Regions from separate parts of the Homo sapiens genome. Here all the other regions are linked to region 2. The links are contacts of gene promoters, found by promoter capture Hi-C in blood cells and fetal thymus (Javierre and others, 2016). All regions are on one chromosome and are shown on one strand. Each heading gives the region's core, a stretch centred on a gene start or on the middle of the fragment in contact. The rest is flanking DNA. Distances are from core to core; before and after follow the strand shown. Region 1 has its middle 27 kb from the start of RPN1. Region 2 holds the start of RAB43 (RAB43, member RAS oncogene family). Region 3 overlaps RPN1 (ribophorin I). Region 4 overlaps RAB7A (RAB7A, member RAS oncogene family).

What was found. Contacts are between HindIII fragments. The CHiCAGO score rates a contact against its expected background, and 5 or more counts as called.
Region 1: a contact is called between a fragment that was not itself captured here and the fragment with the promoter of RAB43 in region 2, in 1 of 17 cell types (total CD8 T cells). The highest score is 7.5, in total CD8 T cells.
Region 3: a fragment that was not itself captured here is called in contact with the fragment with the promoter of RAB43 in region 2 in 1 of 17 cell types (activated CD4 T cells); the score reaches 5.5 in activated CD4 T cells.
Region 4: a fragment that was not itself captured here is called in contact with the fragment with the promoter of RAB43 in region 2 in 1 of 17 cell types (naive CD4 T cells); the score reaches 5.7 in naive CD4 T cells.

What each region holds. Positions count from the first base shown.
Region 1 is chr3:128,675,062-128,680,022 of GRCh38, reverse strand. It overlaps the pseudogene POU5F1P6. Among named protein-coding and RNA genes, the nearest start is that of RPN1, 27 kb to the right of the region's middle. RefSeq lists an enhancer at 4,618-4,687. The HindIII fragment of the contact is 1,502 bases long and covers 1,611-3,112 here.
Region 2 is chr3:129,120,097-129,125,094 of GRCh38, reverse strand. It overlaps RAB43 (RAB43, member RAS oncogene family), which reads left to right and starts at 3,291. Exons shown (of 3, transcript NM_198490.3): 1 at 3,291-3,809. The coding sequence starts at 3,606. The region is part of intron 11 of ISY1-RAB43 (ISY1-RAB43 readthrough); the gene reads left to right. RefSeq lists silencers at 3,062-3,281, 3,302-3,481 and an enhancer at 4,262-4,998. The HindIII fragment of the contact is 2,447 bases long and covers 2,032-4,478 here.
Region 3 is chr3:128,637,666-128,642,543 of GRCh38, reverse strand. It overlaps RPN1 (ribophorin I), which reads left to right. Exons shown (of 10, transcript NM_002950.4): 3 at 4,439-4,745. Among named protein-coding and RNA genes, the nearest start is that of RPN1, 11 kb to the left of the region's middle. The HindIII fragment of the contact is 2,410 bases long and covers 2,233-4,642 here.
Region 4 is chr3:128,795,319-128,800,219 of GRCh38, reverse strand. RAB7A (RAB7A, member RAS oncogene family) reads right to left here. Exons shown (of 6, transcript NM_004637.6): 2 at 4,800-4,860; 3 at 2,151-2,277. The coding sequence starts at 4,852. It also overlaps the pseudogene RPS15AP16. Among named protein-coding and RNA genes, the nearest start is that of MIR12124, 49 kb to the left of the region's middle. The HindIII fragment of the contact is 2,076 bases long and covers 529-2,604 here.

The sequences.
Region 1 (4,961 bases), core at 1,112-3,611, 440 kb after region 2:
CACACGGGCCTCCTGTGGTCTCACTTGGTCCTCTTTGTGACAGTGCCATTGTTACCATTTACAGAGGAGGAACTGAAGCTCATGGTTGAGCCTCTCACTTGCCCACTTTGCCAAACCCTGGTAGGGATGGGATTAGAGGCTCCTTTTCTTTCGTGAAATGAGACAACGATCTGGGGGATCGTTGGAAGGATTAAAATGAGTATTCAGATTACAATGCTGGATTCTTAATAGTGTCCTCTGTTAATAATAATAATAATGTAGTAGCAACAGTCACGTAGTCTTTACAGTCACAGGTGCATGTGTGTAGATGGGGTTCTCTCTGTATTAGCCAGGCTGGTCTCCAACTCCTGGCCTCAGGCTATCTTCGCACCTCTGCCTCCCTTAGTGCTGGTATTACAGATGTGAGCCACTACACCAGCCTGCAGTTTTTACTACAACTCTGTGAGGTGATTAGTACTAGCATTCCCATTTGACAAATAAGGACAGTGAAGAAAGCAGAAGTAACTTGGCCAAGGTCACAGAACAGCCATAGCAATTCCTGGGTGGTGTGGAGTGGAAGGCTCTGGCCTTAACTGCTACACATTGTCTCTGGTAACAAGGCCCTGCCTGAAGTATATTCCGGCTTCTAGAGGTTGCAAGGAAATGGACCACTCATCAGTTCTTGCAGCCTCCTTATGATCTACAGTGGGACTTCGCAAAGGCAGGCCTAGTAGGAAAACAAAGAGAAGAGGGTTGGAAGAAGGGAAGGATTGGGGCTCAGAAATTATGAGGGAATGGACTAGAAAGGATAGAAACAAAGCTCTTGGGCAGGTGCAGTGGCTCACACCTGTAATCCCAGCACTTTGGGAGGGCAAGATGGGAGAATCAATTGAGGTCAGAAGTTCTAGGCCAGCCTGGCCAACATGGTGAAACCCCATCTCTACTAAAAATACAAAAAAAGAAAAAAGAAAAAAGAAAAAATGGGTCGGGAGCAGTGGCTCACACCTGTAATCCCAGCACTTTGGGAGGCTGAGGCGGGCGGATTACCTGAGGTCAGGAGTTTTATACCAGCCTGGCCAACATGGAGAAACCCCATCTCTACTAAAAATACAAAATTAGCCGGCCATGGTGGTGCATGCCTGTAATCCCAGCTACTCAGGAGGCTGAGTCAGGAGAATCACTTGAACCCAGGAGGTGGAGGTTGCAGTGAGCTGAGATTGCGCCATTGCACTCCAGCCTGGACAACAAGAGTAAAACTCCATCTAAAAAAAAAAAAAAAAATTAGCTGTGCTTAGTGGCACATACCTGTAATCCCAGTTACTCAGGAGGCTGAGGCAGGAGAATCGCTTGAACTAGGGGGATGGAGGTTGCAGTGAGCTGAGATCGTGCTACTCCACTCCAGCCTGGGCGACAGAGCCAGACTCTGTCTCAAAAAACAAAACAAAACAAAACAAAAATTAACTGGGCATGGTGTTGCAGGCCTGTAATCCCAGCTAATTTGGAGGCTGAGGCAGGAAAATTGCTTGAACCCGGGAGGTGGAGGTTGCAGTGAGCCGAGATCCTGCCACTGTACTCCAACGTGGGTGGCAGAGCGAGACTCCGTCTCAAAAAAAAAAAAAAGAAACAAAGCTTTTGTCCCCATCTCCACCAGAAGTGAAGAAAAGAATGGCTTCCAGCTTGAGGAATGGGGAATGGGGATGATGGTACTACACTACTACTACTACTATTAAATACTACTGCTACTGCTACAACACTACACATTCATATCTATTCTTAGAAGGTATTAATCCCAGAAATTCAGGTTGAGGTTGGGAAAAGTAGGTTCCTTATCCTTGGGAATCTGTTTACTTACCTATAAAACCAGAGTGTAGTAAATAGGAATCCCTGTCCTGGCTGCCTAGCCAGGTTGTTAGGAGGAAAGAGAGATTTGGTGTCCTATACTAGCATTCAGAATGACTTGTGATGGGACACTGTTTGCAAGGCTGGGGAAAGCAGGCTGTGATACCTACAAGTGGGAGTGTACATTTTTACAACTCCATGAGGAGGCAAGCTGGCATATCTGTTAATGTAACATTAATCCTTTGTACCAATCCTTTGATTAAGCACTTCAGGGCCAAGGAAACTATCTTACATATGTATTCCCCCATGTGCACAGACAAACGTAGAAAGAGGTACAGTTGAGGGCTGTTTGAATGGCAAAAGCATGGAAGCAAACTAATTGTTCATAAATAGGGGACTGGCTTGATTTTTGAAAAATGACACATCAAGCCTGAGCAACATGGTGAAACGCTGTCTCTACAAAAAATACAAAAATGAGCTGGGCGTGGTGGCAGGCACCTGTAGTCCCAGCTACTCAGGAGGCTGAGGCAGGAGGATCACTTGAGCTGCAGAGGCAGAGGTTGCAGTGAGTGGAGATCGCACTACTGCACTCCAACCTGGGTGACAGAGTGACACCACATCTCAAAAAAAAAAAAAAGACACATTTGTTTAACAGGAATTCTATGCAGCCCCTCCTACAAAATAAAGTAGTACTGTTGTAGAATAAGCTCCAAGATTTATCACATATAATTATAATTATGACTGTGGCTGCAAATAACAATGTAGCCTTCTATAGTGCAAATAACAATGCAAATTACATTGCAAATAACAATGTAGCCTTCTATAGTGGCTTAAACAGACAAGGGTTAATCTGTCTCAAGCAATAAGTAGCAATAAGGGCAGGCACATCTGAGTCTTGTATGGGGCATTGGTGTGTTGTCAGGAATGCAGACTCTTTTTCTTTTTAAAATTTCAAAAGCCTTAAGAAGGTCACAGTGGCACATGCCTGTAGTCCCAGCTACTCAGAAGGCTGAGGCAGGAGGATCGCTTGAGCCCAGGAGTTCCAGGCTGTAATGAGCCATGATCATGCCTGTGAATAGCCACTGCACTCCAGCCTGGGCAACATAGCAAGACCTCATTTCTAAAACAACTTTTTTTAAAATTTAAAAACTTTTTGCCTCATTTCACCAGATCCCTGGCTTGGGGAGCCTTCCTTCCCCATGGTGGGACACCTGGCTTTGGATTTCACCTTCTTGCCCCTTCCAGGTGGTGGAGGTAATGGGTCAGCGGGGCGGGAGCTGGACTTGGCTAAGCTTCCAAGGCAGGAATTGGGCCGGGTGTTGGGCCAGGCTCTGAGATGTGGGGGTTTCTCCCGTGCCCCCCACTGCATGAGTTCCGTGGGCAGATGGTATACTCTGGGTCTCCGGTTGCAGTGGGGCTAGTGCCCCAAGGTGGCTTGAAGACCTCTCAGCCTGAGGGCGAGGCAGGAGCCTGGGTGGAGAGCAACTGTGAGGGGCCTCCCTGGAGCCTTGCACTGCCCCAGCTGGTGCCATGAAGCTAGAGAAGGAGAAGCTGGAGCAAAACCTCAACGAGTCCCAGGACATCAAAGCTCTGTAATTTGCCAAGCTCCTGAAGCAGAAGAGGATCACCCTGGGATATATCCAGGCCCGTGTGGGGCTCACCCTGGGGGCTCTTTTTTTAAATGTTTATTTATTTGTTTATTTATTTTTGAGACAGGGTCTCACTCTGTTGCCCAGGCTGGAGTGCAGTGGCGTGACCTTCGCTCACCACAACCTCTTGTTGTGCCCAGGGGTGTTAGAGAGAACGCCACACTTTGAGACGATTTAAGAGTCCTTTATTAAGCCGGCGGCCAAAGAGACGGCTAACGCTCAAAATTCTCTTGGCCCCGAGGAAGGGGGTTGATTAACTTTTATACCTAGGTTTAGGAAGGGGAGGGGAACTCAAATGCAATAATTCTACAGAAGTAAAAACATGCAAGAATAAAAAAAAAATGGTTACAAAGAGATAAACAATTTAAAAGACAAATGGTTACAAGAAGAGCAACGGTACCAGGTGCAAGGCTTTAAACCTTTATTATAATTAGATATAGGGGGTATGCCGGACAGGAACTCAAGGCTTTATGTTGTTATCTCTTTGAGAAAAATCCTGGGAACTTCATACATTGTTGGTGCTAGTACCTTATCAGTTAATTGGGCTACTTTGAAATGCTGAGGATCTGCTTACACAGGTTAACTCCTTGCGGAAGGGGGTTGGGTAAGGAGCCCTTAGTATCTTGTAAATTAAGGGGTCAATTGGAGTTTGTCTGGCTTTCCCAGCTAGAGAGAGTCTTATTTACATGAGAAGCAAGGCTAGGTGATTAAAGAGACAAGCAGGATAAAATTCAAAGTAACGAGTTAGAGTAAAAACAAGGTTAGGCGTTTCACTCTGCCTCCTGGGTTCAAGCGATTCTCGTGCCTCAGCCTCCCAAGTAGCTGGGATTACATGCATGTGCCACTATGCCCAGCTAATTTTTGTATTTTTAGTAGAGACGGGGTTTCTCCATGTTACAGGCCAGGCTGGTCTTGAACTTCTGACTTCCCACCTTGGCCTCCCAAAGTGCTAGGATTACAGAAGTGAGTCACCATGCCCAGCCTCTGGGGGGTTCTATTTGGGAAGGTGTTCAGCCAAATGACCATCAGCTGCTTTGAGGCTCTGCAGCTCAGTTTCAAGAACATGTGTAAGCTGCCTCCCTTGCTGCAGAAGTGGGTGGAGGAAGCAGCCAACAATGAAGAGCTTCAGGAGATATGCAAAGCAGAGACCCTCAGGCAGGCCGAAAGAACAAGAACCCGGGCCAGTCGCGGTGGCTCACACCTGTAATCCCAGCACTTTGGGAGGCCGAGGCGGGAGGATCACGAAGTCAGGAGATCGAGACCATCCTGGCTGACAAAGTGAAACCCTGTCTCTACTAAAAATACAAAAAAAAATTAGCCGGGTGTGGTCACGGGCACCTGTAGTCCCAGCTACTCAGGAGGCTGAGGCGGGAGAATTGCCTGAACCCGGAAGGCGGAGCTTGCAGTGAGCAGAGATCGCGCCACTGCACTCCAGCCTGGGCGACAGAGCGAGACTCCATCTCAAAAAAAAAAAAAAAAAAAAAAAGAAGAAGA
Region 2 (4,998 bases), core at 2,042-4,541:
ATGTTTCTTGGCCGGGCATGGTGGCTCATGCCTGTAATCCCAGCACTTTGGGAGGCCGAGGTGGGCGGGTCACCTGAGGTCAGGAGTTCAAGACCAGCCTGGCCAACACAGCAAAACACTGTCTCTACTAAAAATACGAAAATTAGTTGGGTGTGGTGGCACACGCCTGTAATCCCAGTTACTGGGGAGGCTGAGGCAGGAGAATTGCTTGAGGTTGCAGTGAGCCAAGATCAGGCCATTGCACTCCATCCTGGGCAACAAGAGTGAAACTCTGTCTCAAAAAAAAAGTTAAATTCTTGACCAATTTTTTTTTCTTTCTTTCTTTTTTTTTTTTTTTTTTGAGACAGAGTCTCGCTCTGTCGCCCAGGCTGGAGTGCAGTGGCATCATGTTGGCTCACTGCAAGCTCCACCTCCTGGGTTCACGCCATTCTCCTGCCTCAGCCTCTGAGTAGCTGGGACTACAGGCGCCGGCCAACACACCCGGCTAATTTTTTGTATTTTTAGTAGAGACGGAGTTTCACCATGTTAGCCAGGGTGGTCACGATCTCCTGACCTCGTGATCCGCCCATCTTAGCCTCCCAAAGTGCTGGGATTACAGGCGTGAGCCACCGTGCCCGGCAACTAAATTCTTGACCTATTTTAAAAATTTTGCAATATAGGCCGGGTGCGGTGGTTCACGACTGTAATCTCAGCACTTTGGGAGGCCGAGGTGGGTGGATCATGAGGTCAGGAGATCGAGACCATCCTGGCTAACACGGTGAAACCCCGTCTCTACTAAAAATACAAAAAATTAGCTGGGCATGGTGGCGGGCGCCTGTAGTCCCAGCTACTCGGGAGGCTGAGGCGGGAGAATGGCGTGAATCCGGGAGGCGGAGCTTGCAGTGAGCCGAGATCGCGCCACTGTACTCCAGCCTGGGTGACAGAGCGAGACTCCGTCTCAAAAAAAAAAAAAGTGCAATATACATTTTTTCAAATTTGGTGTATTAAATGAAACATAAATATTTTTTAATTGCTGCATTTCAAATTAGCATGATTCCATTTCAAATAAAATGCCACTGTGCTACTCAGGAATTTACCACCAAAAGAGGAAATGCAGATATTAGACAGCTTTATTGAGGTATAATTTACATACCATAAAACCCACAGGTTGTAAGTTTACATTTTAATGATTTTAATAAACTTGAGGAGTTGTGCAACCCTTACCACAGTCCAATTTTAGAATCACCCCGCAAAGGCAAGGGAGTGGTGCCTGGGTTTTCTGACAAAATCTATACTCAGACCAACATGTCCCCTGCCCCAGCCCAACCAGTTCCAGGCTAGAGCAGTGGAAAGGCCAGTTAGCTATCCAACCACCGTCTACCCCTACGCTTCATCCTGGCTCCTGGATTCCACACCATTTTGTGCTGTGGTAGCTGCTCTGAGCTGGGGGCAGGCCTTGTTTTCTGGAGTTCTGGACTTTGACCTGAGCTAGTCCCAGCATGCAGAAACCTTCCATCCCATCTCCTGTCTACTTCTACCCTGGAGTGGAGGTTATTTCCTGCCTCTCTAACTCTCCGCTCCCATCAGGTGTACCAAAGTGGGGCTCTCAATTGCTTTTCAGTGGCACTTTGGGGTTTCCTGTCTGATTCTGTTGGGTATTTCCCATGGGAGTGGAGTTCAAACTTTCAGAAGAAACAACTCTTCTGCCTTCTCCACGGGGTCTGCCTTTGCAGACTGCTCATTCAGTCCCTTTCTATCTTGACCTGAAAGGTTGGCTGGGGTCCTCACAGTGGCACTGGGGGACTTGCTCTCTGCGAAGTCTCCTTCAGCTTGAAGACTTTCCCCTTTTCTCCTGGATTTTTGTCTGCTTTGTCCACAGGTGCATTACAAGGCCCCAGGACAATGCCCGCCTGTAGTAGCCATTCATTAAATATGTTGAATACCTGGAATTGGAGTGCCACAAGGAAGCTGTCTAGAGGGGTAAGGGGTGCTGTCAATTCCTTCCCATCTTCGGAGCTGGGAAGCCCAGTCCTGTTGGATCTAGTATAAGCTTCTTACAGATGTTTGGGTCTCCTTTCTCTGAGGCGCCCTGGTTCACTGGGCCAACTCAGGAGTTGGTCTGCCCTTCCTCAGAAATCCCTTCAAGTTTTTCTGTTCCTCTTCCTAGACTGGTGCTTTTTGGCTGGGTCAGTTTCCCAAATGGGCCTGTAGCTGCTCTGAGCTGGGTCATCCAGCCGTTTAGCAGCTGCTTCAACCACTGCTAGGCTGCCTTTTGGAGACAAGAGCTCCCAGCTCCTCCTTCTGGCCTAGCTTCCCATCAAATGGGGCCCTGGGTCCTCTCCTCACAAGGATTTTGGGCTCCTCCGCAGTTTTGTAGCCAGCCTGGATTCTGGCCTTCTGCAGCCTGCTCCCTCCCTTCCCTTCCGCCCCTGGGAAGAGCGACCCCCACCACTCTCGGAGACTGCACTGCCCGCCTGTCAGAGTGGGCACTCAGGTGACACTGCTGTGGTCGTCCCCTTCCTCCGTGATCCATTCCGGAGGGGGTCATTCTTAGTCTAGGCCTGCAGGCCCGGAGCTCCAGCCATGGTCTCCGCCTGTCCCTGACCGGCGGTCTGGGAGGCAGCAGGTAGGGGATCCCGGGCAGGCGGACCAGGCCTGGGTGGGGGGCGAGCAGGAGGCGCGGGACAGCACCTGGGGGTCCCAGCTGATGAAGGGTCGGGGTGGGCAGCGGTTTGGGGGCCAGACGGATCCGCGGTGTGGGCGCGCCGGGGTGTTGATGGAGGAGGGGCCGAGGTGCTGAGGGCGGGGTCGGGCTGGGGTCGGGGCTGAGGGCGGAGTCGGGTGGGGCGGAGTCAGAGCTGAGGTGAGCCTGAGGGCGGAGTCGGGGCGGGCTGAGGTGGGCCTGTGGGCGGAGTCGGGGCGGTGTGCTGAGGTGGGCCTGAGGGCGGAGTCGAGGTCGGGCTGAAGGCGGAGTCGGGGAGGGCTGAGGTGGGCCTGAAGGCAGAGTCGAGGTCGGAGCTGGGGACGGAGTCGAGTTCGGGCTGAGGGCGGAGTCGGGGCGGGCTGAGGTGGTCCTGTGGGCGGAGTCGAGGTCGGGCTGAGGGCAGAGTCGGGTCGGAGTCGGGGCGCGCTGAGGTGGGCCTGGGGGCGGAGTCGAGGTCGGAGCTGAGGGCGGAGTCGGGGGCGGGGACGTAGGCGGAACCCGGGTCGGGCTGAGGTGGGCCCGAGGGTTGGGCTGGGGGCGGAGTGGGTGCCAGCCTGAGGGCGGAGCCGGGGGCGGGCGGGGGCGGGCTGGGGCGGGCCTACAGGCCAGACTGGTGTGGCACGGAGCTGAGGACCGGCCGGAGCTTTGCGGAGGGCCCGGCTTGGCGGGTCCGGGGGGGAGCCGAACCCGCGGGGCACCGGGTCCGGGCGGGGCCGAGCCGGGCCGGGGCGGGAGCCAGCCGGGGTGGGGCGGGGCCGAGGCCGAGGCAGGCGGTCGGCAGTGCTGGGGGTTCAGGTGTTGCGGCGGCTCCACGTAGCCAGGCGGCCCGTGGGCTGGAGCGGGCGGAGCTCGGCCCGCGGCTTGCGTGAGCTCAGGCCGGTCCCAGCGTCCAGAGCGCCGGCCCTTCGGCTTCTTCTAGGCCATGGCAGGGCCGGGCCCAGGCCCGGGGGACCCGGACGAGCAGTACGATTTCCTGTTCAAGCTGGTGCTGGTGGGCGACGCAAGCGTGGGCAAGACGTGCGTGGTGCAGCGCTTCAAGACCGGCGCCTTCTCGGAGCGCCAGGGAAGCACCATCGGCGTCGACTTCACCATGAAGACGCTGGAGATCCAGGGCAAGCGGGTCAAGGTGGGAGGCCGGCCAGGGCCCCTGGAAGGCGCTCCCTCGGAGGGTGGGGCGGGGGCAGCGGAGCCCCTGGCCGCGGCGAGCGCACCCCGCGTCCATCTGAAGTTTCCTTTGGCTTCCCCTTTTTCCTTCCTCGGGTCGGAGCAGGCCTGGGCCCCGGGGTCTGGGCCGGGTTCAAGTCCTCAAAGCGCCGGCCGTGGGTTGCTGGGGGGGGGGGGGGCGAGGGAGTGTGGAGGAGGCGGCCCTGCCCTCCGGAGCTCACACCCTAGGAGGGGACTGTGCTCCAAAATAACTTTAGCCATTGGAAGGCAGGGGGTTAGACTCCCCTGTTCCAGGTACTAGCGGAGCGCCTTGGAGTGCGGAGATCAGACCCCCCACCTCCATCCACCGCGATGGCAGCCCCCAGCTCAGCCCACCGGCGGGGCACTCAGCCAGAGAACTGCATCCCCACCCCAGGACTAGGAGCGATCAGGAAGTAGTTGCTTTTAGGACCAGAGGGCCAAAACTTTTTGTCAGAATTTCCGGCCTGGCCACGCCTCCCTGCAGTCTCTTTGTGGACCTGGTGGTGGAACTTTACTCGACTAGGGCCAGCCCCGGTTCCCTCCCCCAGCTGGAGTTTGATAGAAACTGAAAACTTCACAGATACCGGAAGGTGGGGGAGAGAACCAAGCTTTGGCAATGGCTCCGAATAAAAACAGCAGGATGTGGTTGCCACAATGTCCTGGCAGTGGTTTGATAAATATTTGTGATGAATGAAATCAGAGTTTCTTAACCTAGGTGTTAGTACTCCCTAATCAACCAGGAGATCCTGGGCTGAAGGCACTCAGTAACTTTTCTGAACCGCACTGTACAGAAATCTTTGCTTGCTTTCATGGTTTCGAGCCCCCATGATCTTCAGGACACCCTCAGGGCACAGGGCTGGGACGATCTCTGCCAGGGAGATGGGAGTCACTGGAGCCTTGCTGCTGCTGGGCTCTGCCTCTCCGGGTGGCTCTAGGCCTGCTCCTTGTTGCCTTTGGCTAGGATATGTAGCTCTTTGTCTTTGTTTCTATAAAATTGGGATAATTTCTGGGTGTTGCCTCCCTCCTGCCCCAAGGTGGAGAAAAAAGTAAGTCAACAGTCTTTATGTGTCCACAGTGCCTCTCAGTAGATGTGACGGGGAAGCAGAAACTCCTGCCTGAGGGGTTTTATT
Region 3 (4,878 bases), core at 2,188-4,687, 480 kb after region 2:
TTTTGTATTTTTAGTAGAGAGAGGGTTTCACTATGTTGGCCAGGCTGGTTTTGAATTCCTGACCTCAGGTGATCCACCTGCCTTGGCCTCCCAGAGTGCTAGGATTACAGGTATCAGCCACTACCTGGCCACCTTTTTTGTTTTCTGTGTTATCTTCATAGTTGTCTTTCTTTGGTTGTTAAGTTTAATCCTTGAATTACTTTGAGTTCATGTACAGCAACATCCTCTCAGGAGCCACATTTTAATGCGTGGTGATTATCTCAATTTTTCTTGGTGATTATCTTGATTTTCCACTGAGTGTATGAAGTAGGCATCTCACCAGCCCCGAGGCTGTAAGATCTGAGAGTTAGCTTTAAATAAGTCGCTATTAAAATTGCTTTCTCTTGCTTTAAGAGACTCCTCTCCCTCTCTGAGGCTGTCTGAGTACCCTGTCTGTGTTTATTGGCTCTAGCTGCTGGCTTGTAGCGTCTTGGATAGGCAAGGTAACTTAGTTATTAGGACTGTGCTTTTTGCATCTTTACTGCCTGGGATCAAATCCTAGCTCTGTTATGTTTACTAGCATTTTCCTCAGTTTCCTCATCAGTAAAATAATAGTGTTTACCTGATATGATCATGGCTAAGAGTCACTAAATTGGCCAGGCGTGGTGGCTCACGCCTGTAATCCCAGCACTTTGGGAGGCCGAGGCAGGCAGATCACCTGAGGTTGGGAGTTCGAGACCAGCCTGACCAACATGGAGAAACCCCATCTCTACTAAAAATGCAAAAAAGTTAGCCAGGAGTGGTGGTGCATGCCTGTAACCCCAGCTACTCGGGAGGCTGAGGCAGGAGAACCACTTGAACCGGGAGGCAGAGGTTCCGGTGAGCCGAGATTATGCCATTGCCAGCCTGGGCAACAAAAGCAAAACTCCGTGTCAAAAAAAAAAAAAAAAAAAAAGATTCACTAAATCAATATATATATAATGTACTTGGAGCCTTAGTAAGCACTTAATAAATTTTGAATTAATCACAAAGAAGGCTAATGGAATGGAAGGAACATTTCAGGCAGAGATATCTGTAAAGATACGGAGGGTTGACATTTCATGGTGTGTTTAGTTAACTGGGCTTTCAGAGTGGCTCTTGCTCAGAGGAAGGTGAAGCTGTGTAGGGTGGGTTGAGTTCAGTTTAAGGACTGCTCTGAACCATTATTAAAGGCGTGGGCTTTATCCTTAAAGCCCACAGTTGGGAACATTAAAAAATTTTTTTTCATAGCTTACCATTTTATTCATTTCTAGTTATATGTGCATACATTATATGAATTTGTCTTTATCACCTCTTCCTGCCACAGAAACTGACCTATATGGGGTTCTCAGTAAATCAGTTTGAGTACATGAGTAAAAAACCAAGTCATTCACACAATGTTCTCCCATTAGATCCAGCTAGAGAAGAGCTTTAGGAAAAAAAAAAAAGACCTGCTCCATGTACATCAGTTTAGACAGTTCTGTGTTGTCTAGCCTTTTATTGATTGAAAAACCTTCATTAGCTGGTGCTTCCACATTTTGGTAAGACTTGATGTTCCTAATGATCTTGGAGTGCTGAAAGGTTCTGATTTGTCTTCTGAATTATCAAAGCAAAATTAAATTATGTGGCAGCATTTAACAACTTGTAAAATGAATGTGGGAATGTTGATTTGAGATTGTGTAGATGGGCTGGGGGGAAGGGAGATTAGGAGATTAATAGGAAGAGATGCAGTAGTCTAGGCACATGGTATTGGTTTGAATGGAGGAGGAGGCAAAGGAAGGGATGGGTCTGAGAGGAATTTCTGAGGCAGGATTGCCCAGGTATTGGGGACAGGGCAGAGTGAGGCATCAGAAGATGCCTGGGTTTCTAGCTTAGAGTTGATCAGATGGCAGTGGTATTAAGAGAGATCAAGACTTGGGATCATGAATGATAAGGTTTTGTTGAATTGCATGTGGGGTGGTCAGTGGAGCTGTCTAGTAAACATTTGAAAATTTGATTTTAGAATTCAGGACAGAGAGTGGGATGAGAAGCACATTTGGGACTTGAAACTAAGAATTGGTTAAGACTGTCCTGAGGAGAAGATTCCGCTACTTATATTTTGAGTAGTGAACGTCACAGTTGTAATATGAAATATAATGGTGTGACTGATAAAGACATGCAAGTTTTGTGTTCTATAAAGTCATATCAGGAAGAGTGATCCATGTTCTCACCTTTGAGGACAAACTCATTGAAGCTTATTAATTCAATTTTTCACTAGTGGTTTCTACGTCTTCTAAAAATTGTTCTCCTGGCTTGGAAAACTGATTCAGTTTAGAATTAGTACCCTGTGAATTTTAAGTTTCCAGGCCATCTGTTTTTCTTTTTTTTCCTTTTTTGAGATGGATTCTCGCTCCGTCACCCAGGCTGGAGTGCAGTGGCACAATCTCGGCTCACTGCAACCTCCGCCTCCCAGGTTCAAGCAATTCTCCTGTCTCAGCCTCCCGAGTATCTGGGACTACAGGCGCCTGCCACCACGCCCGGCTAATTTTTGTACTTTTAGTAGAGACAGGGTTTCACCTTGTTGGTAAGGCTGGTCAGCCATCTGTTTTTCTTTAAAATATTAGTAGCTTTATTTTTTTCTTGATATGAGGATGATACAAGCTCCTTATAAGACAAATTAGGGCCTGGCGCAGTGGCTCATGCCTGTAATCCCAGCACTTTGGGAGCCCGAGGCGGGTGTATCACCTGAGGTCAGGAGTTCAGACCATCCTGGCCAACGTGGCGAAATCCCCTCTGTACTAAAAACACAAAAATTAGCTGGGCGTGGTGGCGGACGCCTGTAATCCCAGCTACTGGGGAGGCTCAGGTAGGAGAATCACTTGAACCCAGCAGGCGGAGGTTGCGGTGAGCCAAGATTGTGCCATTTCACTCCAGCCTGGGCTACAAGAGTAAGACTCCGTCTCAAAAAATAATAATAATAAAAAATAAAATGAAATTGGAAAAGACAAACTAAACTTATTCTACAACCTTGAGACAGTTACCATTAACATTTTGTTGAACATTCCTTGAAATACTATTCTTTACATTCATTCATTTTTTTTTTTTTTTTTTTCTTGAGACGGTATCTCGCTCTGTCGCCCGGCTGGAGTGCAGTGGCACGATCTCGGCGCACTGCAAGCTCCGCCTTCCGGGTTCACATCATTCTCCTGCCCCAGCCTCCTGAGTAGCTGGGACTACAGGTGCCCGCCACAACGCCCGGCTATTTTTTTTTGTATTTTTAGTAGAGATGGGCTTTCACTGTGTTAGCCAGGTTGGTCTTGATCTCCTGACCTCGTGATCCACCCATCTCGGTCTCCCAAAGTGCTGGGATTACAGGCGTAAGCCACCCTCCCCGGGTCTATGTATGTTTTTAAATGGAGTTATTCTTTGTCATTTGTAAACAGATTTTCGTTATTTACATTGTACATGGACATCTTTCCATGTTAATATAGATATGTAGGTTAGCCATATTTCTAATGACTGCCAATATTCTATTGTGTGAAGCCATATTTCTAACGACTGTCAGTATTCTGTTGTGTGGTTCTATTAAAATTTTTTTTTTTGAGATGGAGTCTCTCTCTGTCACCCAGGCTGGAGTGTAGTGGCGCTATCTTGGCTCACTGCAACCTCCGCCTCCCGGGTTCAAGTGATCCTCCCACTTCAACCTCTCAAGTAGCTGGGACTACAGGTGTGCACCACCACGCCCAGCTAATTTTTGTATTTTTAATAGAGACAGGGTTTTGCCATGTTGGCCAGGCTGGTCTGGAACTCCTGACCTCAGGAAATTCACCTGACTTGGCCTCCCAAAGTGCTGGGATTACAGGCATGAGCCACTGCACCCAGCCAAGAGATCACCTTTAATATAGTAATTTAAGTCTTTTATTAACAGGACATGGTGGCAGGTGCCAGTAGTCCCAGCTACTCGGGAGGCTGAGGCAATAGAATCTCTTGAACCTGGGAGGTGGAAGTTGCAGTGAGCTGAGATCATGCCACTGCACTCCAGCCTGGGCGACAGAGCAACACTCTGTCTCAAAAAAAGAAAAAAATAATTTAAGTCTTCTAAGACAGATATGTAGCTGTTTCTCTCAGGGCTGTTTATAAATAGCAAGAGTGTAAAACAGTGTAAATGTTCAACAATGGAACAAAAGTTAAAAACATTCTAATAGGTAATCCCAGCTATTCGGGAGGTTGAGGCAGGAGAATCGCTTGAACCCAAGAGGTGGAGGTTGTGGTGAGCCGAGATCGCACCATTGCACTCCAGCCTGAGTGATAGAGTGAGACTCCATCTCAAAAAGGAAAAGGTGATCTCTTAAAGATAATTGCTTTTGTCTTTGGTTCAAAATTTTGTTGTGACTTTGAACTGCTACTACTGTTTTCAGTATCCTCAGTCTCTCTTACTTCTCTTGCCTTGTTCTTCCTTTAGTGGGAGATTCTTCACAGTCAAGCTCCCAGTTGCTCTTGATCCTGGGGCCAAGATTTCAGTCATTGTGGAAACAGTCTACACCCATGTGCTTCATCCGTATCCAACCCAGATCACCCAGTCAGAGAAACAGTTTGTGGTGTTTGAGGGGAACCATTATTTCTACTCTCCCTATCCAACGAAGACACAAACCATGCGTGTGAAGCTTGCCTCTCGAAATGTGGAGAGCTACACCAAGCTGGGGAACCCCACGCGCTCTGAGGACCTACTGGATTATGGGCCTTTCAGAGATGTGCCTGCCTATAGTCAGGTAAGCTCAGGTGGAGTCCAGCCCATCCCTGTCTGCTTCAGAGAATGTCTTGCAGAGTGACTACTGGTTGATAGGCTTGGGTGGTGTGGGGTGGATGAAATCTGCAGTCATTTCTAAGGTCATCCCAAAAGTG
Region 4 (4,901 bases), core at 317-2,816, 320 kb after region 2:
TGTTGTTCCTTTATAAGTCATGTCTTTTTTTTCTATAGTTGCTCTTAAGATTTTGCTTTTCGGTCTTCTACAATTTTAAGTCTTCTTTTAGAAAATTTGCTCAGCTCTTACGGCTTACTGCTTTTTTCAGCTCCATTTAATCTACAGTTTAACTGTTCCTTTAGCTTATTTCAATACTATGTTTTCACTTCTTGAAGTTCTAAGTTTTCCATATCCTCATTTTTTTATAGTATCCCTTTCCATTATGGTTTCTATTTCTTTTTAGAACATCTCTAGTCATTGTGAACATCTCTTGTGGTACATTATTTCCTCATGTGGTTATGAACTCATCTTCTCTCCTGCGGTACTAAATGTCCCTACAGAGTGGTCTTACCCTTGTTTTTGCCAGGAATGACAGGGATTTATGTTAAATCCTTTGAGACAAAGATTTCTGTACATGTGGAGAGTGGGACTGAGAATCTCCAACAACTGCAGACACAAGCTTTGCCAATTTCTTGGGCCAAGGTTTTCCAGTTCTACTCTCAAGCTTGACTTGCTTAAACTGTAGTTACATTTTGAAGATCTCTAGGTGTATGTGTGTAGGTGAGGTGAGGATGAGAGATTCATACCAGCTCTGTCCTAGAAGTGTGAGTCAATTAAGAGTCCTGATCCTCTAGGAGCATGCCATGGCTCGAGGTCAACACGTGCACAAATTTCTACCTTTAACCTACATCATTCACACATTTCAGCAAGCCCCCACTATTTGCCAGGTACTTTCTAGGACTATAATGGGATTAGAATTGTATTTGCCTCTAGAAGCACATAGGAAAGAACAACTGCCATGGAGATAGAAGTTTCCAAAGATCTGAGCTAAAAGTTGGAGACTTCAGGTGGGTATACAGGCCCTGCTGGAAGCAGAGACATATCCACCAACACAAGTCTGTAAGAGCAGCACATGATTCGGAATGACTGGAACGAGACAAAAAAAAAAAAAGTGAGTAACAGCTATTTCCACCATCTTTTCTTGCCTCCGTAATGCATGAACGTCTTGGCTGATGCTCTCAAGGGCAAACACCAGGTTCTTATTAGGCTGTGCTCCCAAGTCATGGTCTGGTTCTAAGTGTGAAGATGAAACATGATCACATTGAAAATTTGAAATCACTGGTCATCACAGAGCTGGGAAAATTACTGTAAACCTCACAGGCAGGTTAAAACTGCCCCTGGAATGATTGGCCCCAGATGTGATGTGCAACTCAAAGATCTAGAAAAATGACAGGATAATCTACTCCTATCCCAATAGTTTGGTTTCAAAGTGAGGTTGTACTGACAACCTCAGCTGGCATCATGGACCATGAAGAAAGAGATGAAAATACAGGAGGGAAAATCCTGGGATTCTTTTTTTTTTTTTTTTTTTTTTTTAAATTTAGAGACAGGGTCTCACTCCATCACCCAGGCTGGAGTATAATGGAGCAGTCACAGCTCACTGCAGGCTCAAACTCCTGGGCTCAAGGTATCCATCCTTCAGGGGTTTCTTTTCTAGGGATGTTAATACATGTATACAAACAAAATGACTCAATGGGGGAAAAAAAGGGAATAATAGTTTATAGCCAGAATGTGAAGGCTTTTCAACAAGTCATATGAAAGAATCTGTATCTTATCCTAACTGTTGAAAGGGAACCCTTGAAAGATTAATAAGCTGATACATAAAAAAAAGATTGGCTCAATAGACACACAACTCTTGAAGTTACGTATGAAATAGGAAGTCAGAAAAATAAAGTTTATGTCTCACTACTGAGGTGAGACAAAGATGTTTACCTAAAGCACTGGGCAAGGATGTCAAGAGAGGCACAAGACAGAGACCTGCAGGTTGCCAAATTTAGCAAACAACAAAACCAAAAACAACAAAAAACAAGAAAGGATAAATCTGAGTTTTTTTTTAAGAAGAATTTTTTAGTGTGTCTTAGCAAGTCGTATCTGAGATACACTAGAAGTATACTAAAAAAGTATTCACTATTGATCTGAAATTCAAATTTAACTGAGTATCAGCCAATTATCTACAAATAAGATAATAAGATTTGAAGAACAGGGAAGGAAAATGTCTATGCATGAGGAAAGATTAAGACTAAATGAACTATCAAGGCCTGGTCAGCACAGCCAAGACATGTGCTTACCTGCATTGTGACTAGCCTGTCATCCACCATCACCTCCTTGGTCAGAAAGTCAGCTCCTATTGTGGCTTTGTACTGATTGCTGAATTTCTTATTCACATACTGGTTCATGAGTGATGTCTTCCCGACTCTGAAATTGGAGAAAAACCATAAGTATAAGTCAAATAGGAGGGTCCTGAAACTGACACGAATTACTTGAAGCATTTAAAAGAATCTGCCTGACCTGAAGGACAAGAAACTGCCCTCACAGCAAAGGGCAATGCCAGTAGCCTTCCGAGCATTACACTTTTGAAGTTTTGTGTTTTCTCTCTGGGTAAAAATATAGGGTACAGATGTGGGGCAGATGTGGAAAAGCTGCTTACATGTTTTGGCACAGCCAGGTCAAATGGTAGAGCCTAGTATTATTTTTTCCATTCTAGAAGGATGCCAGCAAATATACTGCTTTCTAAAAGAAGCTTCACTATTAAGACTGTTCTGCTATTCCAACAGTATCCCTGCTATCTTAGATGTTTCTCCATTTAGTGGCTGCTATTTAGCTTGATGAAGTAACACCAGGAGGAAGACCTTGGCTTTCAGCAGACACACACCACTCAGACAATTTGCTGCTTTAAAGTTTAAAATCTGAAGCAGAAAAAGCACCAATATATCACCAAAACAAATCCACCTCAAAGAATGCTCCTCCAAATATGTTTTCTAGTAAGAAAACTCAGCAAGAGACAATGTGTGATTTTTGTGTGATAAGGTTAAGGTAACCTAAAGCTAATACAAAAACCTTCCCCCCCATAGCCAGTGATATCACCTTTCTTGGCCACAAAGGAACATGTTCATATTTGTGTTAAAGAACCTGGAGGTACCTAGACAGCCGAAGGCAGTGTTTTCCAACCCAGACCATCTAAGCCAGAATCTACAAGGTGAGAGGTGGCAAAACCTGGAATCGAACAAGGGCTTGGTGAGACTTTTTGCACAAGTTTGGGGAAGGCAGGCCTAAAAGCACTATCTTTCCATCCCGACGGGGATGGAGTTGCGGGGTAGGAGAGAGAGCACAAATCTAGGCCCTAGCCCACTGGTCTGGGGCTGGGCAAATGCTAGCGAACAAAAGGTTCTTCAAAGGCTGGGCATGGTGGCTCAAGCCTGTAATCTCAGCACTTTGGGAGGTCGAGACGAGTGGACTGCTTGAGCCCAGGAGTTTGAGACCAGCCTGGGCAACATGGTAGAACCCTGTCTCTATAAAAAATACAAAAATTTAACCAGGAGTGGTAGCACACACTGGTGGTCCCAGCTACTCTGGAGGCTGAGGTGGGAGGATGGCTTAAGACCAGGAGGTTGAGGCTGCAGTGAGCTGTGATTGCACCATTCACTTTAGTCTGGGCAACAGAGCGAGACCCTGTCTCTCACACACATACAAAAAAAGGTTCTGCAGGTGATTCAAATAAGCCAGTCAAGACAGAAAAACCTCTGGCTTTTCAAAGGAAGGGCAGGGGACTTTGGAATAAAGAAGCATACCTGCATTTGCTATTGTTGTTATTTTTAAAAATACATAAGCTTCCAATGAGTCAAAGCTTTCATGGGTCCCTTCAGATGCCAAGTCTGAAAAGCCTACCACAGAATCTTTTTATTTTAAGAGTTGGGGTCTTGCTCTGTCACTCGGGCTGCAGTGCAACGGCATGATCATAGCTTGCTACAGCCTCAAACTCCTGGGCTCAAGCCATCCTCTCGCCTCGGCCTCCCCAGCAGCTGGAACTACAGGTACGGCACCTGGCTAAATTTTTTTTGTAGAGACAGGTCTCCAACTCCTGGGCTCAAGCAATCCTCCCCTCAGCCTCCAAAGCACTGGGATTATGGGCATAAGCCACCTCACCCAACCTACCACAGAATCTTAAGAGCCATTAGAGTTAGCTACATGGTTAGTGGCACATCTAGAATCAGAACCCAGTTCTGCCGTCCCAGGCTCTTTTGCAGATAGATCTGAAGCAGGCACAGCAGCAGGAGGATACTGTATGGTGCACTAAGAACGCACATCTGGGTCGGGCGCGGTGGCTCACGCCTGTAATCCCAGCACTTTGGGAGGCCGAGGCAGGCGGATCACGAGGTCAGGAGATCAAGACCATCCTGGCTAACACGGTGAAACCCCATCTCTACCAAAAATACAAAAAACTAGCCGGGCGTGGTGGCGGGCGCCTGTAGTCCCAGCTCCTCGGGAGGCTGAGGCAGGAGAATGGCGTGAATCCGGGAGGCGGAGCTTGCAGTGAGCCGAGATCGCGCCACTGCACTCCAGCCTGGGCGACAGAGCGAGACTCTGTCTCCAAAAAAAAAAAAAAAAAGCACATCTGCTACGCCAGATGCCAATGGCAATACATCTACGTAAGGAAGACTCCCCAGCCTGGCCAGCTTGGAGAAAAGGGATTCCATGAAAATGCCTATCCTTAGTTGAGTTCAAATAGCCATCCGTTCCCCATAAAAAATCATGCTAAAAACTAGAGAACAAAAGGTTATATAACAAGGGATCATCTAAATTTCTGCCGTGGAGGGAAACATGTAAGGCCCTAAGCCTCACTATGAAAGCAAGAAGTGGCAGCACGGACAGTGTGGGCTCCACAGCAGAGAGGCTTAGCTCTAAGCCAATCTGTTAGCTCAAATTCATGAGTAACTTACCCAGAATCTCCCAGGATGATAACCTTCAGCAACACTTTCTTCCTAGAGGTCATCCTTCAAACTAAAGGGGGAAAAGGAGAAATCACTGTGAGTGTGATGGAA